Linked DNA regions of Homo sapiens: region 1 is linked to region 2. Evidence: promoter capture Hi-C in 16 types of primary human blood cells and fetal thymus (Javierre and others, 2016). All regions are on one chromosome and are shown on one strand. The core of a region is centred on a gene start or on the middle of the fragment in contact, and the rest is flanking DNA. Distances in the headings are between cores, read along the strand shown.

The links. Contacts are between HindIII fragments. The CHiCAGO score rates a contact against its expected background, and 5 or more counts as called.
Region 1: a fragment that was not itself captured here is called in contact with the fragment with the promoter of TMEM196 in region 2 in 1 of 17 cell types (fetal thymus); the score reaches 6.2 in fetal thymus.

Annotation. Positions count from the first base shown.
Region 1 is chr7:20,167,737-20,172,142 of GRCh38, forward strand. MACC1 (MET transcriptional regulator MACC1) reads right to left here. Exons shown (of 7, transcript NM_182762.4): 2 at 2,978-3,042. Among named protein-coding and RNA genes, the nearest start is that of MACC1-AS1, 28 kb to the left of the region's middle. The HindIII fragment of the contact is 1,821 bases long and covers 725-2,545 here.
Region 2 is chr7:19,771,385-19,776,159 of GRCh38, forward strand. It overlaps TMEM196 (transmembrane protein 196), which reads right to left and starts at 2,233. Exons shown (of 5, transcript NM_001363562.2): 1 at 1,166-2,233. The coding sequence starts at 1,312. All of the region lies in intron 1 of LOC107986774 (a long non-coding RNA gene), which reads left to right. The HindIII fragment of the contact is 8,082 bases long and covers 391-4,775 here.

The sequences.
Region 1 (4,406 bases), core at 385-2,884, 400 kb after region 2:
TGACCCCGGAAGATCTCCAAGTTCACAGCAGGACCTGCATCATGGGCATGTGACCTGTGCAATAACACAGAGCCCCACTCTTGGATAGGCCCCATGCTTGGTGTAATGCTCTGCCACTGCCATCTTGAAATACCTAATATGTTTTGAACAAGAGGTCCCATATTTTCATTTTTCACTGGTGCTGCAAATTATGTAGCTGGTCCTTGTTCACAGAGTTGGCAACCTTTACTCTTCAGACCCAGAGAAATGACTAAAATTACAAGGGGCCATGAAGAAAGGAGAAAAGCATTATTTTGGATGAAGAATGCTCATCTTACAGATGATGAACCAAGCTGCAGAGAGGTTGATAGTTATTTGTCTTTTTTATTTGAATTCCCTACAGTATGTTCATTTTACACGTGTGTGTGCATGAACATACCCACAACACACATGCACTTCCTTGGCTTAAAAATATGTTGAGAAATTTACAAATAGTCAAATAACACAATGAGTTTAAACAACAAGTAAGTGTATATTATTCTTCAGTAAAAAAAAAAAAATTTAAAAACAAAATAAGTGAATAAATAAGGGTGACATTTGCAGGAAGTTGGTAGGACAACTTCAAATAAAAGCAACTTCACAAACATCATGCTGTAAATTCCAGTATACCTATTAGCAGTAGTCCACACATTTGGCTCTCCACTTTCTGAAAGTGACCAAAATAAGGTAAACATGATTAGTTACAAGCTTCACAGTGATCATAGAACACAAAGAAGCCACTTAACAGCAGCACCAGCAATACCTGGAATAAAGAGGGGTGAAGAGGAGCATGTAACTACTGGGGACAGTATCCTCGGTCCCACCTTTTACAGTATGTTCAACAGTAAATCTCTTTAATGGAGCTCTTTCTTAATGTGTGTTGATGTCATCTCACCCAAAGGCAATTCTGTCAAGTCAGGTGGAGAAGAGTGGGCCCAGCTAGACAGCTATCTGCCTCCCTATTCTAAGATAAGCACACATGTCAGGTTACAATCCCAAAAGGACAGGACCTAGTCCAGTAAAGCCCACTATGCTTGGTTCCTCTCAACAGAGTTTCCCTTTCCACTTTTCAAGTCAGAGCTGACTGAGACATTCTAGGCCTAAGATCCAGAGCAGCTTTTTCTTTTGAAGACCCAAACAATTCACTAAGTTAAAGATAGGAGTCACGTTCTCTTGTGAAAATTGAGATGAGTAAATTTGAGATGACAATTGAGATGAGTAGCTAAAATGTAGCCTGAGCAGAAGATCATTCTACTTCTGCATGCTGTGCCATGATAGGGACTGCAGTTTTCCTCAGAAACAGTTTTGTTACTGCTCCCACACAAGAGCATACATTTCCAACTTTCAAGGCCACAGAGCAAAGCTGTAGTACTTTCATTGTGAAAAACATTTAATGACTTCTTTTACCTAATCCCCACTGTTGCCATAAAATATTCCCAGTGATATGTCTCTCAGGTTTAACTTTAAGCAATAGATGTTTCAAGCAAACTCTGAGAAATAAATTAGCTACAAATCTTGTCCCTGGGATTGGACAAGTTTAATTATTGCAAGAGTAGTTGGATATGACTTTGTGTAGTTATGGACCTGCAGTCATTTTTCTTTCCTGTACCCTTCAGTGCAAAAAACGTGTTCTGGGTTGTACTTTTCAAAAGGTATAAAGATCAACCCCCAATTCAGAAGGGGTGGACAAGACGTGGGTTTATAGTGTGGCTAATAAAGCTGTAACTGTAGGGTCCTCACTTGCATGGTCTTTTCTAGCAAACTGAGCCAAATTCTGTATTTGTTTTCTCTGCAAAGCTCCACTGCTTCCTAGAACACTTGACAGTATATCAGGAGACCTCACTGGTTGTCATCAGTCAGCAATGTCTTTCCTTTCTTTTATGTAAATGCATTTTTGTAAAGTAGAAAGAATATAGGCTTTGGAGTTACAATTCTCTGGTTACAGTCCTTCTAGTATAAACTTGGAAAGATACTGAACATTTCTGGAACTCTACTTATCATCTGTAAAGAACTAAACTAAAATAGGTAATAATTAGTATTACTATCAACATATAATAACCCCACATGCTGTTCATAAGGATCAAATGAAATACTGTATAAAAAGTGGCACAAGAGGACCCCTTGCTTTTCCTCTGGTCTCTCCCTCCTGGTTATTCCAGTGCATATAGAAATAACTTTGCCAACTGGGCCCATTCAAGAATCTTCTCCTCTCAATCAGATGTCTTGAGACTCCAATCTCTGATAGCTTACAAGTTGTGTCTTGGGACCCTGTATCCTATTCTTCACCCTTCATAGAAAATTTTACCAGTGCCATGATTCCTGCCAAAAGAGTGACTGGACTCATCACAGCAGAGGCACTGGAGTGCAATAGAAAGAACGCAGTCTTTGAAAATAGACAGACGTAACTTCAGACCAATGCTTAGAAATGAATTCACTGGTCTGAGCACCATTTCCTCATCTACAAAATGAGGGTAAAATATTGTCTTCAAAAAGTGGTTACAATGATACGTGAAATATATCTCAATAAAGCTTTTTTAAAAAATTGTTGTAAATATTGAAATAACATAAATCCCCAATGAACATCAGTTGCTGCTTAAAATGATAATTCTTCTCTGTTTTTCACTTCTGTGCCAATTCCGTTGGTCTTAGACAATGTAATGAGTGGTTACTGACAAAGATATGTAAAGAATATTGGAAAAGAGGAAACAGAATAAACACTGTGAAAGTTTGTCATTTTAGCTTAACAGATTATTCAACTTGACAATACTTTTCACCTCTCTGAAGGGGAAAATGTAAAAATTATTGTATCGTTTAAAATTAGATTTGTGTTAGTACTTTTGCAGTAAAAGCAAGTATTTTTAGCCAACACTTGCTGAGTTGTTACTGTATGGAATTAATCGTAAGATTCCCAGCATTCTTTGCCAAGAGAAAAACACTCTGACATTTTGTGTATACTCACAGTTTTCCTTGGTTTGAACTTCAAACACTGATGTGAATCATTTGCATATCATCTGACAAGGCTACCTACTTGAAAGAGAATAAACATGAATCTTTGGTCACTGTTAAGTGAAAACAGAATGTTTATGCACTAACGTTTGCTATGAGAAAGAGCTTATGAATAAAATTTGGTAGAATGGGTAAGATTAAAGAGAGACTCATTACACCACACCATCCAATTCATACAGCAGGAATTTCCCTTAAATTCTCAACAATTGATTACATCTAGTTTCTAATGTTTCAGGGAATCACACTGTTTCCATTTGTTATTTTTGTAAACAGAACGGTGTGCAACAGTATGAACTCTTTGTCAAAGCAGTGACTTGAAAAATACTAATGCGCATACATGTGTGCATATATCTATTCAGAAATATAGACAACTGATAGAGAAAGATGGATATTGATATAGACATATATATGATTCAGCTGAACAAAAGTATTTTTGTTATTATTAATGCTCCACTGATTTCTGATTACTAGAAACTGGAAGATTATTTTATTTTCTTTTTTTTTTTTTTGAGGTGGAGTCTTGCTCTGTCGCCCAGGCTGGAGTGCAGTGGCGCTATCTTGGCTCACTGCAAGCTCCGCCTCCCAGGTTCACACCATTTTCCTGCCTCAGCCTCCTGAGTAGCTGGGACTACACGTGCCCGCCACCACGCCCAGCTAATTTTTTTTTATATTTTTAGTAGAGACGGAATTTCACCGTGTTAGCCAGGATGGTCTCGATCTCCTGACCTTGTGATCCGCCTGCCTCGGCCTCCCAAAGTGCTGGGATTACAGGCATGAGCCACCACGCCCGGCTGATTATTTTCTTTCTTAGAGACAATTATATCTGTTTTTTTTTTTTTGAGATGGAGTCTCGTTCTGTCGCCCAGGTTGGAGTGCAGTGGTGTGATCTCAGCTCGCTGCAACCTCCACCTCCCAGGTTCAAGCAATTCTTCTGCCTCAGCCTCCCATGTAGCTGGGATTACAGATGCCCACCACCACGCCTAGCTAATTTTTGTAATTTTAGTAGAGACAGGGTTTCACCATATAGGTCAAGCTGGTCTCGAACTCCCTACCTCAGGTGATCTGCCCACCTCGGCCTCACAGAGACAATTACATCTTCAAAATTTCACTTATTTCAACACGGTATCAAGTGATGATGTGAGTTACAAGAAGTCTGGAGGAAAAAGCTGAGAGAGGAAAACTGCCCTGGGTAAGAAAGGAAACCAACTGAGGAGACTGAGGATTGGGACAAGTGATTGTAGCCTAGAAGGGAAATACGAAATAAAAAGACATAACTAATGAGAATATTCTGAGGGAAATACTGAGAGGTATGCATTGTCAACCCTAATATCTAGTTCTCCCACACAATCTTCAGAAAAATCCATGTTACTCACTGATTCAGG
Region 2 (4,775 bases), core at 983-3,482:
AAAAAATATATAAATCTAATTATCCAAAGCAAAATTTTGCCAGTTTCAAAAAAAAGTTACAGCATCTTTCAAAAATGAATTACTTTTGAATAATTTTTCTTGAACTCCGTAATAATCATTTTCTTTTAGTGACTTAAAGCTCAAGTGATTAAGCCATGATGGTTAAACATGCTACAGATTATCAGTGACAGAATACTTTCTATTGAATTATCTTGAAAAGTAGGATCAAGCTAGGCATCCAGAAGTATATGACACATATATAGCTTGAAGGAAAAAACTGGTTTTCACAATTAGATTCACATTAGGAATGGTGCTGAGTTATTTTATTGAATCTTGGTGGAAGAAATGGGTCTCTAAGGCTTTCTTGGAGATTCATCCTAGTAAAAAAGAAGCTTGTTGAGTCTGACATCTGACCTAGAGATAACTATGACAGTTTCTCTGAGCAGTTAGGTACTCTGTAAGCAGAATTATTCTCCATTTAGAATGTTATTACACGTCTTACCATCTGATGTTTTTCTAACTTACTGTCTAGAACTTACAAAAGCGTTTTCAGAGGTGAAATATCAGAAATGTAGCAAAGGAAAATTAACAGCAATGTTTTCTGGAATGAAATGCACCCACAAACTTCCTTTCACACTCACACCACGTTTCTGTTTTTGTTATTGGTGTTGCCTCTGGTGTACCTTGGGCATTATTGCCCAGGGATAAATGCATAACTATCCCTGCTTGTTCCCTGATACAAAAAAATGATGGAATACTCTTATTTTGATTTTCCTTGTAGAAGGAACAAAAGATTAAGTGAGCCTGCCCTTGACAGGTGTGACACCCCCCTCCCCCCGCCTCCCAAACAGCACCACTGGGCAAAGCAGCCTTTTGTAGAATCAGCCAGTGGAAACTAACCCCCCACCCCCACCTTTAAACAAAGCCATTTAATTTGGTCTTAAGCCCAAGTAAGAAACAAAACAAAACAAAACAAAACAAAACAGAAAACGAATAAAGGACAATATAAAGAAGCATAGCTTGTCAGCATGAACCTACATGCAAGCCAGAGATCTATGATTTTGTTTCCCAGGGAGGGAGTGACTAATGCGCGCACCCTGACCATCACCGTAAAGAGGTAAAGAGAGAGTGAAATGGCTCAACGTACACACACCCCGCTCCATACCGGGGACGAGTCTCCGAGCTGCGGCTTGTGCTCTCGGAGGGCCAGGCTGAAGCTGACCGCCCCCACGGCCACGCTGGACACCCCCAGCCCTATCTCCAGCACGGAGAGCACCAAGAGGCTCCCAATAATCTGACCGCTGGTGCACATCCTTCCTCGGTCATCTTCCTTCCAGATCAGAGAGGGAAATCAACCATCTACCTTTTTTTCTTCCACTATCCTCCTTACCCCTTCCACCCCCTACCAGATCCCAAAACTTTTCTTTCTTCAAGAGCGAGGCATTATCCACAAGGGCTGGATTTCCAGAAACGAAGACCTTCCCTGGCTGGGCCAGAGGCAAAGGAGCTGCTCCACCCCCTGGCACGTTCAGATAGGGATCGTAGAAGGATCTTCCTGGGTTCGGTGGTGCGAAGATTGCACACCGGTACCGGGGCTTTTAAGCAGCGGAAAACCTGGAGGAGCCCAGGGAGCTCCGAGCCTTGCTCCCCAGGCGCTGTCCAGAGTTCTGCCGCGTCCCAAATCTCCGCAGGGAAACCCGCGCCCTCCTCAGCCTACTAGACCCTTTCACAGGGTCCCTTCTGTTTTATTGCCGAGGAGAGGAGCTTTGCTTCCCGGAGATCCAAAGGGAACCGCTCCGAGTTTCTCTCTCCCTCTCCCGTTCGTCACCTCTCCTTTGTTTTCGTGGCAATGCGAAGTGCTTCTGCAAGTCTCTGGGTCCCCAGGCAGAGCGGGCGGATGATATTCAGCACCACGCTCCTTGCAGTTGCTTTGTCGCCAGAAAAAGCGACCTTGTCTGATGGCCTCTTTCCGTCTGGGTTTCTTCTCCCTCGTCGTCGTCCTCTTCCTCCTCCTTTCTCTCGAGCTGATTCTCTTTCATTGCTATGACCTCATTGGGGTTTAGGAGGTTGACGGAGGAGGAAAAAGCCTAATGTATTTGTAGATCCAGGACCAGTACTCTTGGCTGGCCTTTGATCCGCCCCGCCCCCGGACCGCAGCAACAGAAATCCAGGCGACCCCTACCTCCGCTTCTCCCCGTGGCTCCTTTCTGGGCTTCTATCCAGCGGAGAGGGGAGGCGATGCCTACGTCAACGCGGGCTCATTCTGAGAAAAACTTTCTTTAGCTTGTACGCGGGGTAGGGGGAGCAGTGAGCAAAGAAAGACGGAAACCCCAGGGGGGTGGAAAAAGCCAGACTCCTAATGTCACTAGGACTCTCAAGGCCCCTCACCAAGGAACTCCCCTGTCTAGGAGAGCTAGATTCAAGCCTGCTTACAAGGAATGTCCACTCCCGGCCATCACAGCCTGTCACCTTCCGTGTCGTAGGGCGAAGAAGCAGTTGATGGGGGCCACACCTCCACGGTGATTTTGTTCCTCTCCAGCCACAGACCCTTGCTTTCCCCTAGGAGCGTGACCACACGTTCTGGGAGGCATAGCTAGACCCAACTGAGCTGGGATTATATATTCTCAACAAAATTCAAGAGATGTGTATGCATTAGAACAGGCATTATTTAAAAAAAAAACACGTCTGGCTTAATGCACAATTATTTTTGACAGTCTACTTTCATCAGAATCTTTAGGGCAGGGGCCAGTCCAGCTTGGCCTGGGATATTTTTGCATTGTCTTTTGATGCCTATGAGACTCTAGATGTCTAGGGATCGCTGTGTTTAGACCCCATTTTCATTACTCTAGTTTTATGAAAAATCTCAAGGTATTCTATCAAGGAGATCTAGGAAGTGGGATAAAGAGAGGGTTTTGGGTGTGGGTCATCTTTCTCAAAAACTGGGTTCTCCAGTTCGACATGGACTGAAGGAAAATAGAACAAAGGAAGATGAGGTTAGGGTACAATAACACAAGACTAGGGAATGTTGACTTCTATACATCAGTGCAGTGCAGGCGCCTCTATTAGAGGCTTCTTAAAGCTCCCATGATGAGAACATAAAAGCTCGGTGACCTATAGCATAAGTTCTGTAACATAAATGCCAGTTTCAGTTTTCTTAAATTTGATTAAGGGCTTCTTTTAGAGTTTAAACTCAATTCTACACTATAATTTTTTTCATATGTTTATATTCTATAATTTAAAAATTTGAATCCTTTTCTCTTAAAAATAAAACAAATGTAAGGAAGAAGAGTTACAATTTGTTAGGCCTTAAAGAGCTTCAGTTATTGTGATATTTGGAGTACAAATAAACATTGGTACTGAATGATAATTAGTGGATTCATTTCTATGCTTTTAAATCCTCAAAGACATGCTAAAGTACCTCATTAGTGTATGGCTTTAATGATGTAAAGTTTATTTAATTTAAATAATACAGAAGTCATCTAAATGATCCAATTTATATGCATAAATAATACAGCATATATGTTGTTGAAGTTTTGCTTTGTGTTTAGTCACTTCTTTTCTTTAGGAAAAAAATGCTTCTCTGTTAGGAAGACAACAAGTTGTAATATTAAATGAATTGATTAATGGAGACATATAGGAAGGGAAATAAACTTTTGTAGAGAACACAGGGATGGTATTAACAATAGTTGAATTTCACAGAGAAAAAGAAACAAACAAAACATATATTGCGGTTAACATTTTATCTCTGAATGTGATGGCTTGGAATATAAGATTGGTTATCATATGCCTGATAAAAACCAATCCTGATTGATTCTGGGTCATTGGTTAGAAATCCAAAACTTTTGATTTTGTATATGGAAGAAATTCAACTCATCTTCACATAAGTAACTAACAATAATTCACAATAAAACAAATATTTTTACAAATAAAAACAATTATTTTCTATAGAGGAAACTGCTGTTTTGAGTTTTAAAACATGAGCATCAGTGTTAAAATTTTCAAAAAAAATTACGTTATCTTTATTGGGACACAAAGGATATTTTTTGTGCCTTTTAAATATCATGTAATGATCCTCCTAAGATAAATCCAAATACACCTAAAATTTCCTCCTAAATACAGAAATCAAGAAAAAAGAGTTCAAACTGACAAATTATTTATGATTCTTATTATAATTATCCCTCCAAATTATTTGCTAGACAAATAATTATAGGGTAAAAACTATAAATCAAGAAAAAATCATATGAAGCACACCACTATCCAAATACCAGTAGCTCCACAATTTCTGAATTTGATTTTTCTAACGCTGTAGTACACCAAAAGAGCTATTCATGAGATCCATTGATAGATAATTCAATATTTCCACAACTTTGGCAAGAGCAATAGCACAAAAAATCTCAAGTTTGCCATCTGCTGGCTTATGCATGATACAAGTGAATGTGAGTAGCCTCAAAATAATTCTTATTAGATGCCTTAATAAAAGAAAACATCTTTATAGTGGCTAACTTTAAGGACCTAAGCACTTCCAGTAAATATTCAAGAATTCTGAGGTTCTCTCATTCACCCATTTACCCAAATTAGATTATGGAAATTTTAGTATCTGGATGAAGGAAAATCCAGGAATGGGTAGACAGTACACTAATGTCTCCTGTCTTAATATAATAAAGTAAGTTGACAAAATCATCAATGCTGCCACATTAATATAGAGTTATTGAAAAAGCTAAAAATGTGAAATGATTAATTTTAAGATCTGATTTAATGTATCTAAGCTATTATAA